3 separate regions of the Homo sapiens genome follow, and regions 1 and 3 are each linked to region 2. Evidence: promoter capture Hi-C in human tissues and cell types (Jung and others, 2019). All regions are on one chromosome and are shown on one strand. Each heading gives the region's core, a stretch centred on a gene start or on the middle of the fragment in contact. The rest is flanking DNA. Distances are from core to core; before and after follow the strand shown. Region 1 overlaps ZNF738 (zinc finger protein 738). Region 2 holds the start of ZNF708 (zinc finger protein 708). Region 3 has its middle 44 kb from the start of ZNF708.

Region 1 (2,700 bases), core at 15-2,514, 48 kb after region 2:
CCAGAGTCCTCTTCATGGCATATAAAAGACTGCACAATCTGACTGCATTTCCATTGTTTTGGGGGACACACAAATATCTGCATGATTTTGAGAAACTTTATGTTAAACTATTTTTTTAGTTCTCTTTTGCATCATGTCTAAAATGTGTGAGAGTAGTGGTCACTGTTCTATTGGTTTTTATGTTAATTTTCTGCACATTCCATCTTTTTTTATTAGTATATTCTTGAAATATAGTCTGAAATTATAAAATATAATGTCTCTCTGCTTTGTTCTTTTTCCTCAAGATTGCTTTGGCTATTCAAAGTTTATTGTAGTTTTTTTGTTTTGTTTTGTTTTTTGTTTTGAGATGGAGTTTCACTCTTGTTGCCCAGGTTGGAGTGCAAAGGCGCCATCTTGGCTCATCGTAACCTCTGCCTCCAGCGATTCTCCTATGTCAGCCTCCCGAGTAGCTGAGACTACAGGCATGCACCACCATGAGAGTTTTTAGTAAAAACTCATGTTTTTATAAAAAGTTTTATTAAAAAATTGGATTTTTAGTATACTTGCCTTGGCCTCCCAAAGTGTTGGGATTACAGGCGTGAGCCACTACACCCAGCCTTTTTTTCTATTTTATACTTTCATTCCATTTTGGTCATAGGATGTAATTCATAAAATGTCAAATTTAACAAATTTTTATGACTCCGTTTTTGGCCTAACAGGTGGTCTATCAAAGAGAATGTTGCATAAGCTATTTTGAAGGATGTGTTTCCTCATATTCTTGAGGACTCTTCTCTATTTCTCTGTTAAAAATAATTGTACAGGCTGGGCGCAGTGGCTCATGCCTGTAATCCCAACACTTTGGGAGGCCGAGGCGAGCGGATCATCTGAGTTTGGGAGTTTGAGACCAGCCTGACCAACATGGAGAAACCCCATCTCTACTAAAAATACAAAATTAGCCAGGTATGGCAGCACGTGCCTGTAGTCCTAGCTACTCAGGAGGCGGAGGCAGAAGAATCGCTTGAACCCAGGAGGCGGAGGTTGTGGTGAGCTGAGATCGTGCCATTGCACTCCAGCCTGGGTAACAAGAGCAAACTCCATCTAAAAAAAAAAAAAATTGTATTATACTGCCTTCAGTTCCTCTCTTCACTTACTAATATTCTGTCTTGTTTTATTTTTATTACAGAAAGTGGGGTATTGAAATTTCCTACTATAATTATATTGCTGTCTAGGTGTTTCTTCCAGTCTGTCAATATTTGCTTTATATATTTGGAACCTTAGTGTGACATACACACAGACACACAGACGTGCACACACACACACACACACACAAAATTTGTCATAGGTTCCCAGTTAATAAATCTATTATTGTTTAATGTCTTTCTTTGTCTCTTTGCAGTTTTGACTTAAAGTACTTTATGTAAGATATGACAGTTTTTGACTTAAGATGTGGCTTTTGTAATACTATTTTGACCTCTTCTGCTCTCATTTGGTTAATATTTGCATGCAATGTCTAAATCTATCTTGCCACCTTCAGTATGTTTTTAATCATTAGATGTCAGCTGACCCTTGTAGAAAGGCAAATTGGATCTTGGTTTTTAATAATTTTAAATAAATTTCTTTATTGAAAGTATGTCTCTTGATTGGAAAGTTTTCTGAAACAAAGAGACTTACTAATTTTTTTTGTTGTTCTATTTGATTCTTGCATCTTTGTCCCACATTTTCTCTCTTTGTTTCTCTCTGTGGCTGTTTTATTTTTACTTTGATATGCTTTTACTTCTTTCTTATGTTGTTTTCTGTGTCTATACAGGCATATTCTTTGTGGTACGTGGGGGATTACATAAAACCTTTAAGAGATACAATGTATTTCAGTCTAGTTAAAAATGAACTTTTGTTGCATGCAAAAATTTTTTCTCATTACATATGTTCTCAGATTTGTTCTTGATGTTGCTAATTATATTTTTATATGTATATTTATTAACATGTTTATAATGATTTCTATGCCTTTATCTTTCAAATTTTGGGGAATAATTAAAAATTTCTTCTGTGCCATTATGATAATGCTAAGAAATGTATTTTTGTGTATGTGCGTATCTTTCCCAGAAAATAATGTGTTTTAATATGATTTTGTGTTGCTTTGTTAAATCATCTTATTTTCATTGGAAGCAACTGTTTTCAGCACCTTTTATATGTAAGGAAGTACCAATATACTTTTTAAAATTTGGTTATTTTTGAAGTTTGTTTTCTTTTTATTTAGCAGGACAGATTTGGTGATGGTATTATACTCACTTGATAACTATTTTCTTCAGATTTCACTATATCACACAGTTTTCTTCTGTCCTGAAAAATTTTTGTTGAGAATCCACTGGCTATCTCATAAGAGTATTCTTGCAAATAATATCACTTTTTTTTTTTTTTTTTTTGAGATGGAGTTTCACTGTTGTTCCCCAGGCCGGAGTGAAATGGCGCGATTTCACCTCGCTGTGTCCCAGGTTCAAGCAGTTCTCCTACCTCAGCCTCCCGAGTAGCTGGGATTACGGGCATATGCCACCACACCCAGCTAAGTTTGTATTTTTAGTAGAGACAGGGTTTCTCCATGTTGGTCAGGCTAGTCTCGATCTCCTGACCTCAGGTGATTCACCCACCTCAGCTTCCCAAAGTGCCGGGATTACAAGCTTGAGCTACCGCGCCCAGCCAACACATCACTTTTATCTTGCAGCTCCC
Region 2 (2,700 bases), core at 1-2,500:
ATAAGATTTCTGTGCCTGAGGAAGATAAAAAAAAAAAAGCCATAGAAATTTCATAAAATACAGTGTCAGGGAATTATTTTTTGCTTTCTTCTCATGAGAAATATTTTCAACCAGAAAACAATTTTAAGTGCCATCCAATGCTTTGTCAAAAAATGATTAACTAAAATACAGTATCAAAAATGTACACTAAAGGAAAAACAGTTGAGAATGTGAATTAGGAAAGGCAAGCTGGCATTTGGAAATGTCAGAAGGAACTAGAAATTTAGTATTTTAGTTTATTTGCAGTTTAAATCTAACTGCAGGCCAGAGTTAGGCTGGAGGAATGGGGCTGGGAGGTACACTTGAGACCCCGCTTGGAACGCATGTGAAAAATGCAGGGGAAAATCAGTCCCCTGTGGAGTGTGAGAATAATTAAGTGGCAGGCAATTACACTGAGGAGGCTCTAGTCCCCGGCTTTCTACTTAACAGCAACAGCTACGTAAATGTACCTAACCGATTATTAAATATAGTTTTCTTCATCATGCACCTTATAAAAAGTCTTTCCTTCAAGCTCCTCCCATGAACCACAAACTACAAAACATACTTTTGTGCTCTACAATTATTGAATCACTCTTTGATTAAATTCTTTAATATTTTTTGCGATGACTGCCACAGATTTTTAATAGGAGAAAATAGGAACCGGGAACCCCACAGACCAAAGCTCTTCCCATTCATGAACCCGACCCCAAGTCAGGATTCTCCCCTGACCACCCTCCCATGGTCCCTGCACAATCTGGGAGAGGCGCGGCGCTGCCGGTGCAGAGCCGCCCAGAGAGGGCTGCAGGCCAGGGCACAGTCACTGCGCAGGGAAGAGACAGGACGCCCGGGGGCCCGGCTGTCGGCGCAGCCGCCATCTTATGGCTGAAGGGGACTGAGGCCGAGCTAGGCAAGGAGAACTCGGAGCGCAGATTGTGGAGATGACTGCGGGGAGTCCTGAGTCCCGCCACAGCCACTTCCCACAGGTTTCAACCAGCCCTTCCCCTCTCTCGGGATGTCGGACGGCACTCTCACCATTTCTAGGCTTCCAGAGGGTCCTGGAGTCTTAGCTGTGGATCTCCCAATACCTGCAGGTCACAGAGCCACAGAGTCTGGGCCTCTAGGAGCAGAGGACAAACAGCAGTGAAGACGAGACCGGAGCTCCGGCTGCAGCAAGAGACAAAGGCCGCGCCAAACCCGGAAGCCGCCCTGTCCGGTCCAGCTGCGTGTCTGAGTGAACTGTCCCCAGCTCAGAGTCCCTGATTGGATAATGTTAAAACCCGCCCCTTCAGGCCCTGAGGGACGGAAGATGTGATCAGATGCTGGGCTGAATGAAGTGTGACAGCCTATGCTGCAGCCTTTTCAGGCAAGGCTTCCTCCCTGAGCTGAGCCAGGCCCACCCGAGAGGGTGTTTGCCTTTAATCTTGTGTATAAGGTCATATGCCCTTATAAATAATATGCTATATGGCTATTCACAAATGAAAAGAATATAATAACCCAATTGTTCTAAAAAAAATTTTTTTTTTGAGATTGAGTTTCACTCTTGTTGCCCAGGCTGGAGTGCAATGGCGCGATCTTGGCTCATCGCAACCTCCACCTCGCGGGTTCAAGCGATTCTCCTGCCTCAGCCTCCCGCGTAGCTGAGATTACAGGCATGCGCCACCATGCCCGGCTAATTTTTTTGTATTTTTAGTAGAGACGGGGTTTCTCCATGTTGGTCAGGCTGGTCTCAAACTCCAGACCTCAGGTGATCCTCCCGCCTCGGCCTCCCAAAATGCTGGGATTACAGGCATGAGCCACTGCGCCCGGCCCAACTGTTCTAAAATTTTATATTTTGTGACCTTCCTGACTTCTGGTCCTTTGAGCAGGCAGCCTGAGATTTTAAAAAGGAGGCAATTCTCTGAAATAAAATGTGAGCCACAAGTTGGGCGCTGTACCTCACGCCTGTAATCCCAGTACTTCGGGAGGCCGAAGAGGGTGGATCATCTGAGGTTCAGAGTTCGAGATCAGTCTGGCCAACATGGTGAAACCCCGTCTCTAAAACAATACAAAAAAATTAGCTGGGCATGGTGGCAGGCGCCTGTAATCCCAGCTACTTGGGAGGCTGGGGCAGGAGAATCGCTTGATCCTGGGCGGTGGAGGTTGCAGTGAGACGAGATCACGCCACTGCACTCCAGTATGGACAACAAGAGTGAAACTCTGTCTCAAAAAAAATAAATAAATAAAATAAAATCATAAAATGTGAGCCACATGTAAATTTTAAATTTTCTAGTAGCCAAACTTTATTTTATATTTTTATTTTTTTAGACGGAGTCTCACATTGTTGCCTGGGCTGGAGTGCAATGGCGCGATTTCTGCTCACTGCAACCTCTGCCTCCCGGGTTCAAGCGATTCTCCTGCCTCAGCCTCCCAAGTAGCTGAGATAAAAGGCGCTGGCCACCATGCCCGGCTAATTTGTAGCCAAACTTTAAAAAGAGTTTAGCTCTATTTTTAAAAAGAAACAAAGAACAGGTGAAATTGATTGTAACAATTTAACCCAATATATCGAAAATATTGTCATTTTAATATGTGAGAAATATGTAATTATTAATGAAGTGTGTCTATATATATGGAACTAAACCTTTGAAACTAACTCGTATTTTACCTTTCTAGCACATCGCAGTTCAGACCAGGCGCATTCCAGGC
Region 3 (2,700 bases), core at 182-2,681, 44 kb before region 2:
TCTCTTCTTTCTATTGGTCTACATGTGTATTTTTGTAGCAAGCCATGTAATATGGATTACTGTAGCTTTGTAGTACAAGCCAGGTAATGTGAGGCCTCCAGGATTGCTTTGTTGTTAATGTTGCTTTGGCTAAATGGGCTGTTTTATTCTTCCATATGACTTTTAGAATGGTTTTCTTTTTCTAATTCCATAAAAAGTTGCATTTATAGTTTGAGAGAAGTAGCACTTAATCTGTAAGTTGCTTTAGGCAGCACGGACATTTTAATTATATTGATTCTTTAAATTCATGAGCATGGAGTGCCTTTTTACTTATTTGCGTTGTCTCTATTTTTTTTCAGCAGTTTTGTAGTTCTTGTTGTAGAGATATTTTACCTCCTTGATTTAATGTATTACTAGGTACATATTTTTTTGTTTGTAGCTATTGTAAATAGAACCATGTTCTTTTTTTCTCAGCTTGAATATTATTGGTGCACAGAAATGCTACTCATTTGTGTATGTTGATTTAGTATGGTGAGACTTTGCTGAAGTCATTCTTTAGGCTTAGAAATCTTTTGGTGAAATCTTTTTCGGTGAAGTTTCCCAGGTAGAGAATTATATCACCAGTGAAGATAATTTGACTTCCTCTTTTTCTATTTGAATACATTTTATTGCTTTATCTTGTTAAATTGCTGTGGCTACGACTTTCAGGACTATGTTGAATAGAAGTGTTTAGAGTGGATACTCTTTGTCTTTTTTTTTTTTTTTTTTTGAGATGGAGTCTCACTCTTGTTGCCCAGGCTGGATTGCAATGGCATGATCTCAGTTCACTGCAACCTCTGCCTCCCACATTCAAGTGATTCTCCTGCCTCAGCCTCCTGAGTAGCTGGGATTACACATGCCTGCCAGCACGACAGGCTAATTTTTTGTATTTTTAGTACAGACAGAGTTTCACCCTGTTGGCCAGGCTGGTCTTGAACTCCTGACCTCAGGTGATCCACCCACCTCAGCCTCCCAAAGAGCCGGGATTACAGGCGTGAGCAACTGCACCCAGCCTTATTTTTATTCTGATGGAGACCTCATCCAGGTTTTGCCCGCTCAGTATGATGTTGGCTGAGGATTTGTCATGGATGGCTCTTATTATTTTCAGGCATATTTCTCCAGTGCTTAGTTTGTTGAGAATGTTTTTATAAATGAGTATTAGATTTTCTTGAATGCCTTTTCTGCATGTGATAATTGTTTTTTAAAAATTATCTTTACATGGTGAATCACATTTATTTACTTGTATATGATGAAACATCTTTGCATTCATACAATGAAGTTTACATGATTGTGGCAAAATAACTTTTTGCTTTGCTTATGAACTCAACTTGCTAGTACTTCATGAATTTTTGTTTCAATTTTCACCAAGAATAGTGACCGGTAATTTTCCTTTTTTGTTGTGTCTTCACTAGGTTTTACTACCAAGATAATAATGTTTTCAAATAATTTAGGAAGGACTTCCACCTTGATTTTTGGAATACACTCAGTAGAATTAATACCAGGTTATCTTTGTATATGTGATAAAATGTGGCTGTGAACTCATCTTATCCAGGGCTTTCTATGGTTGGTAGCTTGTTTTATTAGTAATTCAATCTTATTATATACTTTATACATTGTTGCTCTGTTCAAGACTTCTGTTTCTTTCTGGTTCAATGCTGAGAAGCTGGATGTATCCAGGAGTTTATCTATTTTCTCTAAATTTTTTAGTTTGCATGCATAGAGATGTGCATAGTAGTCTCTGAGGATGTTTACTATTTATGTGAAATTAGTTGTGATATCACAACTCTAACATTTAAATAGATGCAGAATAAAAGCTTGACAAAATTTGGCTGGGTGCAGTGGCTCACACCTGTAATCCCAGCACTTTGGGAGGTCGAGGCGGGTGGGTCACCTGAGGTCAGGAGTTCGAGACCAGCCTGGCCAACGTGGGGAAACCCTGTCTCTACTAAAAATACAAAAATTAACTGGGCGTGGTGGCTCACGCTTGTAATCCCAGCTACTCAGGAGGCTGAGGCAGGAGAATTGCTTGAACCTGGGAGGCAGAGGTTGCAGTGAGCCGAGATCGTGCCAGTGCACTCCAGCCTGGATGACAAGAGTGAAACTCCAGCCAAAAAAAAAAACAAAAGTTTGACAAAATTCAACATTCCCTCATGATAATCTCTAAAAAATAATTAGTATAGGACAAATGCATCTCAAGCCAATAAATGCCATGTATAGAAAAAAATGTCCAGCTAACAACATATTAAACAGTGAAATGTAAGCTCTTACTCTAAGACCTAGAACAAGACAGGGATGCCCTCTTTCTTCCTTTTCCTTTCTTCCTTTCCTTCTCTCCTTTTCTTGCTTCTCTTTCTTTCTCTCTCCTTTCTTCCTTTCCTTCTCTCCTTTTCTTTCTTCTTTCTTTCTCTCTCTCCTTCCTTCCTTTTCTTTCTTTCTTGTTCTTTCTTCTTTTTTTTTTTTGACGGAGTCTCACTCTTGTCACCCAGACTGGAGTGCAATGGCACAATCACAGCTCACTGCAACCTCTGTCTCCCAGGTTCAAGCGATTCACCTCCCTCTGCCTCCCAAGTAACTGGGATTACATGCACCTGCCACCATATCCAGTTAATTTTTGTATTTTTAGTTAGACTGGGTTTCACCATGTTGGCCAAGCTGGTCTCGAACTCCTGACCTCAGGTGATC

Evidence for each region. Contacts are between HindIII fragments. The study calls those that stand out against the background at their distance.
Region 1: a contact is called between a fragment that was not itself captured here and the fragment with the promoter of ZNF708 in region 2, in 1 of the 25 tissues and cell types used here (H1 embryonic stem cells).
Region 3: a contact is called between a fragment that was not itself captured here and the fragment with the promoter of ZNF708 in region 2, in 1 of the 25 tissues and cell types used here (aorta).

Annotation. Positions count from the first base shown.
Region 1 is chr19:21,376,227-21,378,926 of GRCh38, forward strand. All of the region lies in intron 4 of ZNF738 (zinc finger protein 738), which reads left to right. Among named protein-coding and RNA genes, the nearest start is that of ZNF738, 19 kb to the left of the region's middle. The HindIII fragment of the contact is 5,127 bases long and covers 1-2,700 here.
Region 2 is chr19:21,328,160-21,330,859 of GRCh38, forward strand. It overlaps ZNF708 (zinc finger protein 708), which reads right to left and starts at 1,251. Exons shown (of 4, transcript NM_021269.3): 1 at 1,051-1,251. The coding sequence starts at 1,053. RefSeq lists enhancers at 804-1,003, 1,044-1,223, 1,108-2,096 and a silencer at 1,343-1,564. The HindIII fragment of the contact is 12,621 bases long and covers 1-2,700 here.
Region 3 is chr19:21,284,458-21,287,157 of GRCh38, forward strand. It overlaps the pseudogene COX16P1. Among named protein-coding and RNA genes, the nearest start is that of ZNF708, 44 kb to the right of the region's middle. The HindIII fragment of the contact is 4,282 bases long and covers 1-2,700 here.